Linked DNA regions of Homo sapiens: regions 1 and 3 are each linked to region 2. Evidence: promoter capture Hi-C in 16 types of primary human blood cells and fetal thymus (Javierre and others, 2016). All regions are on one chromosome and are shown on one strand. The core of a region is centred on a gene start or on the middle of the fragment in contact, and the rest is flanking DNA. Distances in the headings are between cores, read along the strand shown.

Region 1 (2,712 bases), core at 87-2,586, 420 kb after region 2:
AAGGGCAGAAAGCTGGGGTGAGGAGGTGTACTGTAAAAAGGTCAGAGAAGAAAGATCTGGAAGCTGATCAGAGATAGAAGAGAGGATCTGAAAGAGGATTCAGAGGGAGCTGGAGAGGCCATTTAATTCATTCTCCCCAAAGGAGAATCATGTTTGGAGGAAGGGACTGGGGAGAATGACTGGCTTTCCAAGCTAGGTACTGGATTTTTCCCAGAGTTTTCCAAAGGACTGGACAGCATGAGGTCTGGGAGGCCTGGACCCCACATAGGTCCACATAGACAGACGGTCACACCAGAGAAGCACATTGTGTCAACACAGCTGTGCATGTGCTCCAGGTCACCCGGGAAAGGCCGCAGGGGCCAGAGTGGGGGACGCGGTGACCAGTTAGGGCTGCACATACACAGAACAGGTCTGCCTGCCTCCAAACATGCCCACAACTCATCATAAGGTCTCCATAAGCCCTTGCTAAGATGATCCTCATTGTCAAGTTCAGCAGCAGCATCATTGTCATCCCAACAGCAAAGACTTACTGGCTACTTACTTCAAACCAGGCCCCATGCTCAGCATTTACAGACATGGCCTCATTCATCTTCTCAACAATTGTAGGAGCTAGGTACTCTTATTATACCCGCGTTACAGATAAGCAAACTGAGGCTTAGAAAAAGTTGAATAAATGACTTGTCCAAGGTCATACAACAGGTAAGTGAGTGCGAGTCCAGGTAGTTCTAAGCCACACTGAAAACTAAGTTCAGTTACCCCCTCTACTGCCTTAATAGCCCCTTATTGATATGGCAGCGCTCTACAGTGTTATGATTTATAAGGCTCTTCTACAACCATCATCTCTTTTGACTCTCACATAATATTGATAGGCTGGTATTGCCCCATTTTACAGTGGAGAAAAATGAGTCCCAGAGAAGGGAAGTAAATTGCACATGGCCATTTGGACGGCAAGGAGCAGAGGCACTGGCAGTTCTCCTGACCCGTCCCATCCTCCCATTAGCATGGCTGTATGTAAGGGAGGGCAGCCAGGCCAGGTGGAGGAGGCAGGCCTGAGGCTGCAAGAGGTCATAGCCAGGCGCGGTGGCTCACACCTGTAATCCCAGCACTTTGGGAGGCCAAGGCGGGTGGATCACGAGGTCAGGAGATCGAGACCATCCTGGCTAACACAGTGAAACCCCATCTCTACTAAAAATATAAAAAAATTAGTCGGGCATGGTGGCGGGCGCCTGTAGTCCCAGCTACTCAGGAGGCTGAGGCAGGAGAATGGCGTGAACCCGGGAGGCGGAGGTTGCAGTGAGCCGAGATCACGCCACTGCACTCCAGGCTGGGTGACAGAGCGAGACTCCGTCTCAAAAAAAAAAAAAAAAAAAAAAAAAAAGGTCAGCGTCATGGTGCTAGGGCACTGCTGAGTGGGAGGGAGGGAATTTTGCCCGAAAGGGGGCAGCAGCTGTCTGAAAAAGAAGGGAGGGAGATGAGAAGGCTTTGCTGTCTTCGGATGCTCCCAGATCTGGTATTGCCGTTAGACCACTCCTCATGCCATTCTCAGGAAGCCCGGAGTGGGAGCAGGGGGCCCAGGCAGACGCAGACCACAGCCTTATTGTGAAGGCTCATCTTCCTCCCAGCCAGGCTCATGTCCCAGGAGAAGAGCAGTGGCCACGCCAAGCCTTCAGGCTTTGACAGAAATGGTGGCAGCTGCACGGCCCCTATTAATCTCCAGGAGGCCAAAGAGAGTATGTTTTGGAAGTCACCTCCAGGCTGGCTCCCGCCTGCCCTCCCCTTGTAAACTCTACAAACATCCAGGAGATAAAAGAGGGGATCTCTCAGAGGCAGAACACAAAGCTCTTCAAAGAACACTTTCAGTCAAAAATAGGGAGAGGAGAGAGGTCTTTCTCTCGGAGGGAATGTATTTATATACCCCTGTGGGGGCGCACATCCGCCCCATGCCACAGCCGGGCACATGGGATGCGTGGAGCACTCTCTGCTTCCCTTCACCTGTCCTTTTCTTTCTCCGGAGACCTACCCTGTGGCTCTAATGGTCCCAGCTTTTTCTGGTTTTCCATCCCCCCTGGGTTACGATTTTAGACCTGCCTTCCCCAGATGGCCCCTTCCTGAATTTCTTTCCCTAAAATCAAATGTCCCTGCTAGCTGCTGCTCTTCACTGACGAGTCTGGTCATCAGTTTCCTCCTCAGAGCGTTCAATACTGCTGACCGCCATCATCCACTTAAGCAAAGTGGGGACCACTCATGTAAGCGCTGTCTCTTCTAGTCAGGCACATTAAAGCAGGGGATTTGACAGCTGGAAAGGAGCTTAGAGAGCCTCTGCTTGAACCCTTTCATTTTACAGTTGAGGACACTATTCCAGACGGTGGAATAATTTGCCTAAGGTCGTGATGAGGTTGTGGCCCACAAGTGACAAGAGTCAGGGCTGCTTTTTGGTTTAAAATGTTAAAACTTTGGGAGGCCAAGGCAGGTGGATCACCTGAGGTCAGGAGTTCGAGACCAGCCTGGCCAACATGGTGAAACCCCGTCTCTACTAAAAATACAAAATTAGCCGGGTGTGGTGGTGCACACCTGTATTCCCAGCTACTTGGGAGGCTGAGACAGGAGAATCACTCGAATGTGGGAGGTGGAGGTTGCAGTGAGCCAAGATCGCACCACTGCATTGCAGCCTGGGCAAGACAGAGCAAGACTCTGTCTCAAAAAAATAAAAAT
Region 2 (3,043 bases), core at 222-2,721:
TTAGTTTTGTGTCACTGGCTTACAGGTGCTCTTAAACCTTAACAGGTTTAACATCCTCTGTAAAATGGGACTAGTGTCACCTCAACACCTACCTTGCAAAGTTGATTATTGGGAATCACACTTGTGTAAGCGGTATAGTCTTGGCAAACAGTAGGTGCTAAATAATGTCTGGCTGGAGGAATGGAGCCCTGTTCGCATATGGCATTCATCCAGCCAGTGTGTGGAGCTGGGGGAGGGATAGGCACGACTCCTGAAGCAGGAGGCCCAGTACGCGCCCAGGCTAGCCAGCCAGCCCTCCCCGGGGAATGCAACGTCCAGAACAGTCTATAGTCCCGATAGTATGCCTCATGCGTGAGACCTGACCAAGGACGTCTGTGAACAAACCCTTCACAGAGAGCTTAATGAGATTGTGGGAGTGCTGGTGGTTGGGTGTGGGGATACAGGCCATTGAAGGTGAGAGGGCCGGTGTGATCAGTTTGGTGGTCTGCCCAAGACAGAGACTCTGCGGGTTGGATAAGAGGGAGCTAATAGGTTTGAGGGGGTCACGTGTCCCTTGCCCTCCCTCCTATTCCCCCAGGACTCCCTCTTCACCCAGCCTCCTCCTAAGGGCAACTCTGTTGTATTAGGATGAACCACACGGTGTACTGAAATGAACCGCGCGTCAGAAAGCGGGGTTGCCTCCTGGGTCCTGCCACTTGCTCCCCGTGTGTTCTTGGCCTGGTCCCTTCACCTCTCCTAGCCTCAGGATCTTCATGCGTAACATGAGATCCTCCCAAGATGTTGGTATGTATACAACAGTGCTCTGGAATGACTCCATGCAAGCTGTTGCTCTTCAGTCTCCTGAACAAGGTGCTCTTGTCTCGTCCCATGAAACCTCCACCTCTCCATCTTCCGCACCACTGAGGCCGCAGTCTCTTCTAACGGGGCACGCTCGTCCCCCGCGCTGTTTCCCGAATGCCACCAGGGGGCGCCCCTTGCTCGCTGAAGCCGCCGGGCTAATAACTCCTCGGGGCCGGGGCGGGCTGCCCCTTTGCGCAGGGCGGTGGAGTGTGCGGGCTGCGCCGGGTTCCCCACCTGAGGTCCGTACCTCGCAGAGCCCGCTTGGCCGCGCGCCCCTAGCCTCTGCCGGGCGCCGCTCCCCAGCCGGGCGCCTCTCGCTCGGCCCCGGGCCCCCGGGCAGCCGCAAGTTTGCCCCCGGCCGCGCGGACCCGCGCCCGCCCTGCCCGCAGCAGCCCCCGCCGTTCCCGCCGCCCCCGCCGCCCCCGCGCCTGGGCTCCCGGGCGACGCTCCGAGGGGCGCTGGGGGGCGCGTGCAGCTGCCCGCGGGGCTCCGGCCCGGCCCCGAAGGGGCGCCCCCCCGGCCGGCCGTGCGCGGGGCCGCAGCAGTTCCCCAGCTGCCCGCCGGGCGGCGCCCCGCGCCTCGCTGCGCTCCTCCCGCGCTCCCCGCGCCGGGCTCGCTCGCAGCCGGACACAGACTGCCTTCAGCTGCGGGCGGATCGGGCTGGAGCCGCCACGGCTGCTGCGGAAGAGGAAAAACGGCCAACAGCAGCCCCGCGGCCGGCCCGGCAGCGCCCGGCCCCCGGCTCAGCCCCCGGAGTGCGGAGCCGACCAGGTAAGGGCAGCGGCCCCCCGCGGCGCCCCCGGCCCGCTCCCTGCGCTGCCCCCGCGCCCCCGAGTCCCCTCCGCGCTGGCCCTTCCCGCACCCCGACTTCTGACGTCTCCGCCGCTCCTGCCCTCGGGGGCCGCGGCCCCGCACCCCTGCCCCGGCCCCCGCCCCCGCGCCCTCCTCCCCGCTCCCGCCTCCCGCCAGCCCGGTCCCTGGCACTTCGGTCCCTGCGTCTCCAGATTCGCCGCCGAACCCCCCACCGCTCTGCTCCCGTAGTTCCTCCAGTCTTCACCCCGGTCCGTCTCCCTCCCTCCGCATCCCTTCCCCGGGCTCGCGGTCCTCCCGCTCTGGTCCTCCCCCTCCCCGTGCAACTCCCAGCCCTGCCTCTGTCCCCTGCAGGGATGACAGCCCCTTCCCAGCCTGGCGCGTCTCCCCTACACCTCGTCACCCTCCGCTTCTCCCAGCGCCTCTGTTCCCCGGCTGCAGCCCCCCATCCCGGCTCAGCCTGGCATCCCACCAAGCCCCCTCCCCCTTTCCTCACTGCCATCTGCCTCGACTGCCCCCTGCCCCTGCACTGGACTCGGGCCACCACCACACCCCCCCACCCTGCACACCGCCTTGCTTGGGGGAACCAGCGTCCTATCAGAAATGATCCTCTTTCCCGGGGAGAATGGGGCTCCCACCCATCCCACCCTAGTTCATCCGAGTGGGAAGTGAGGGAGAAACTCTAGAGACCTGCAATGGGCGCGTGATGGGGGAGGGGGCTGGGGCGGAGGGGGAGGGGAGCTGATTTAGATTCTCTTCAGTGAGGACTGGCAGAGCTGTGCGCTCCGACCTGGCTGGGGTGGAGGGCGTGCAGGCGACAGCTGGGACAGGGGGTTCAAGGCACTGAGAGCACCTGTGTCTCTTTCCCTGGCTCCCTTGAGCTGAGCAAAGTGAGGGGAGGAGTTGGAGCCTGGGGAGAGTTGGCTGAGGGCCTTGGGGTGGTGGAGGAGGCGGCCGAGGGGGCTGGGCCCCGGGCGCCTCTGGCCCGTCTGCCTGGCAGTGGTGGGGCAATGCGGGCCGAGCCACTCCCGGGCTGGACCTTGGGCTGCGTGGCTCTTGGCATCTGTACTTGATGCTGCCATCTTCCTCTTGGTGCTGTTGTCTGGTGATGCCACGCGGTGCCACCTCCCTGCCTCCCTCCAGTGGCTCTCCTGGGCATGTCTCCCAAGGGTCTGGGTTGTCTGGGAAGAGGAGGGGAGCTCTGAGCACAGCTGGGCCCTTTTGCCAGGCAGTGGGCAGCTGTCAAGACCAGGCCAAGAGGTCTGAGGGCTGGTCAGGAGGACTGAGCCCTGCCAGGAACAAAGAACTACCTTCACTTTCACTCCCTATGGGTCACCTGGTTGGTAGTGACACTTCTAGGAGCACCGGGAAACTGCGGGCGTGGTATCTCCGG
Region 3 (3,010 bases), core at 5-2,504, 390 kb after region 2:
TGACTCTGCGGACAAAGATGACTAGGTGAGGTGGAAGATGGGGGAGTGTGTGGAGAGTTTGTGCAGGGAGAAGCCCTTGTGCTGAGGACGGCGTGTGTGGAAGGCAGGCTGACCGTTCCTATCTCATTGACGTGACAGTGGACTCATCCAGAATCAGAATCACGTCACCTTCCACTCAGAGCTCCCGCTCCCTGACACATGACCTTTGCCTTCTGGCTGCCCACTTCATCACGCCCACATCCTGCTCTCCCTCACAGTCCCTCCATGACCTTGTGTCTGTCTGGCCCTCCATCTTCCCCAGCCTAGAAGTCCTTCTCAGAACGAGCTCAGCCCATCAGGATTTCAGTGCTTTCCTCTCTGGGCTCCTAGAATCGTGATGTGCAGGTTTCTCCATGCACACCTGTACCCAAGCCCGATTGTCCCTGCCACCCCTGCTCCCAGCTGCCTGTCTGCATCCAGCCTCCCCTCTGCAGCCGGGCCTTGGTAATCCCTGAGCCCAGCTCTCCTCTGTCCCTGTCGCATCCCCTGAGCGGCTCTGCTGAAAATCTTCCCACACACCAAGACTCAAGCCTATCTGCCCCACTTTCAGCACAACTCTGGGGCCAGCACGAGCTCCCTTCTCTCTGTGAACCCACCCATACCCTCTACCTCACCTCCAGGCTCAGGCCTCAACCTCACCCCGCCCCACCCTGCCTCCACCCTGCACTTCCTGGGCCCTTGCTCCACCAGCTAGCATGGTTCTTTCCTCCTCTTTTCTCCCCTTTTCCAGGGATTTTCCCTTCCTGCCTGTAAATACACCCTGGACTGTCCCATCCTAAAACACCATCGCCTTCACCTTTCCTACACCCTGCTGCCCTTCAAGCTGCCCTCCAACGTAGGGAGTCACAGAATCACAGAATTGGGTGGGCCCCTGGGACCCCCAGCCCTGCTGTTTGCGGTGGGGAAGGAGCTTGGAGGAGAGGCGATCTGCCCTCTCTGTGCCTGCCGCCTTGCCTCCCTTAGCTCCTAACCTGTCAAAATGCTGAACAGCCCTCACTCCTGTGGCACTCGCTCAGTCCTCATCCTACGGAGTCCTGCTGCCCCCACCACGCCTGCCTTCAAAAGGTCGGCAGTGACACATGATCAACACGCTGGTTCCCAGCCCTGCTAGGTCTGTGAGAATGGTGGGAGTGGCTACATCCTCTATCTTCCAATTTCCTCCTCCTTGACGCTAAGATCATGTTCCCCTGATTTTCAGCCTTCCTGGCTGCTTCTGTGTTGTCTTCTGTGATTGCCCTTCATTTCCCCACTCTCTAAGACCAGGTTCTCCCCAGGGCCTCTTCTTCTTCCTCTTCTGCCCTTTCTCAACTCTTCCCCTTGACGGTCTCACATATTCCCCAGCTTCAGCCTTGATCTCTGTACATGTGCAATCTCTGGCCCCTGTCTTACCCTTGCTCCACATTTTAAACACCCAGTGGGTCACTTCTGCCTGCGTAGCCTGCCAGCACCTCAGATTCAACCTGTTCCAAATCCTCCTCCCCTCCAGGCATTCGAGCCCATCATGACACCACCCTCTGTTAGTCATCCACCGGGCTCCAAGGCTCTGAGGACCCACACCCAACCAACCAGTTATCAGACCTGTTCCTTTCTGTGCCTCTTACATCCTTCTGGCTTTCTCCAATCCAACCTGCAGCCCAGGATTCAGGGTCTCATCTCAGGAGAGGGTCTGTCCTCACCCCTGGATGCTTCCTCTCCTACTACTTAGTATTCCTTACTCGCAGCCTTGCGTCTTTAAAACGCTTGATGCTTCCCCCCTATACCTTGTGTAATGTGCAGCCACCACTTCCTGGCATCTGAGTCCCATCCATCTACATTTCTCCTCCCATCTCGCCCCTGCTCACAACCTGTGCTCCGGCTACCCTGGAAGGTCCATCGTCCACTGAGCAGCCACTCAGGATCATGCCCTTGATTGTGCCTTCCCCTGGCCCATGCCTTTCATTCACAGCCCTTCCATCTCTCAGTGTTCTGCCTCCTCCAGAGCCCAGCTTGGATCCCACCTTCAGCTTGGAGCCTTCTCTGGACATCTCACTGGAGAGACCTGCCCTCTTCCCAATGCCCTCCTTGGACTGCAGTTGCACATGTACCTGTTCTTACCTAGCCTGCTTATTGCAGACATCCTTATATCTCTGATAATGCCCAGCCATTGGTCTGCCTGGAATAAAGCAGGGGTAGAAAAAAAAGAGAGAGATAGATAGTGGGGTCAGATGATGACCTTAAACAAGTTGAAGCAGCTTGAGCCTGACCCTCCATGCAGTGGGAACCACTGTGTGTTCCTGACAACAGAAGCACCTTGAAGGACAGCTTTAAGGAGCACATCAGGGAGAGGAGCTGGTCATCACCCCAAAGTAGCCCATTACCCACGTCAGTTTCCTCCTTCTGCCCCATGTCCTCCCCGACCCTCTGTGCCCCTGGCCCTCCCCATCACACGCGGGTGAGACACCAGGGCTAAGATGAGAATGACAGCTGCCCAGTTTTGCTGCAGGAGAACCCATATTTAATGCTGAAGGGGAACCACCAGGAGATGGAAGGCAATGACCGCTACGAGGGCTTCTGTGTGGACATGCTCAAGGAGCTGGCAGAGATCCTCCGATTCAACTACAAGATCCGCCTGGTTGGGGATGGCGTGTACGGCGTTCCCGAGGCCAACGGCACCTGGACGGGAATGGTCGGGGAGCTGATCGCTAGGGTAAGGAGAGGACAAGTGATCTGGGCCTGAGGGTGGGCTGGGAGGGATTGGAAGAGCATGAGGTTGTGCTGCACGCTCATGAACCCTCCATTTGTTCAGTCAATCATTCATGCATTTGTCATTTATTTGTCCACTCATTCTATAAATCTTGCCTGGACTGGCACAGACGTGCGGTGGTGGATAAGCCTGCAATGATCCCTATCCCGTGGCTTTCCCAGTCCAGAGCCTGTGACAAGTCATGGAGGCTCTGATTGATTAACACAGATGAGGGAGTTTGGGTTCCAT

Evidence for each region. The method cuts DNA at HindIII sites, captures the fragments that hold promoters and counts their contacts. A CHiCAGO score of 5 or more calls a contact.
Region 1: a fragment that was not itself captured here is called in contact with the fragment with the promoter of GRIK4 in region 2 in 6 of 17 cell types (megakaryocytes, endothelial precursors, M2 macrophages and 3 more); the score reaches 10.9 in megakaryocytes.
Region 3: a contact is called between a fragment that was not itself captured here and the fragment with the promoter of GRIK4 in region 2, in 1 of 17 cell types (endothelial precursors). The highest score is 6.0, in endothelial precursors.

The regions. Positions count from the first base shown.
Region 1 is chr11:120,932,854-120,935,565 of GRCh38, forward strand. The region is part of intron 13 of GRIK4 (glutamate ionotropic receptor kainate type subunit 4); the gene reads left to right. Among named protein-coding and RNA genes, the nearest start is that of TBCEL, 90 kb to the right of the region's middle. RefSeq lists an enhancer at 1,267-1,561. The HindIII fragment of the contact is 3,000 bases long and covers 1-2,712 here.
Region 2 is chr11:120,510,277-120,513,319 of GRCh38, forward strand. GRIK4 (glutamate ionotropic receptor kainate type subunit 4) reads left to right here and starts at 1,472. Exons shown (of 21, transcript NM_014619.5): 1 at 1,472-1,611. RefSeq lists silencers at 1,083-1,162, 1,343-1,542. The HindIII fragment of the contact is 5,980 bases long and covers 1-3,043 here.
Region 3 is chr11:120,902,769-120,905,778 of GRCh38, forward strand. It overlaps GRIK4 (glutamate ionotropic receptor kainate type subunit 4), which reads left to right. Exons shown (of 21, transcript NM_014619.5): 13 at 2,522-2,725. Among named protein-coding and RNA genes, the nearest start is that of TBCEL, 120 kb to the right of the region's middle. The HindIII fragment of the contact is 4,939 bases long and covers 1-3,010 here.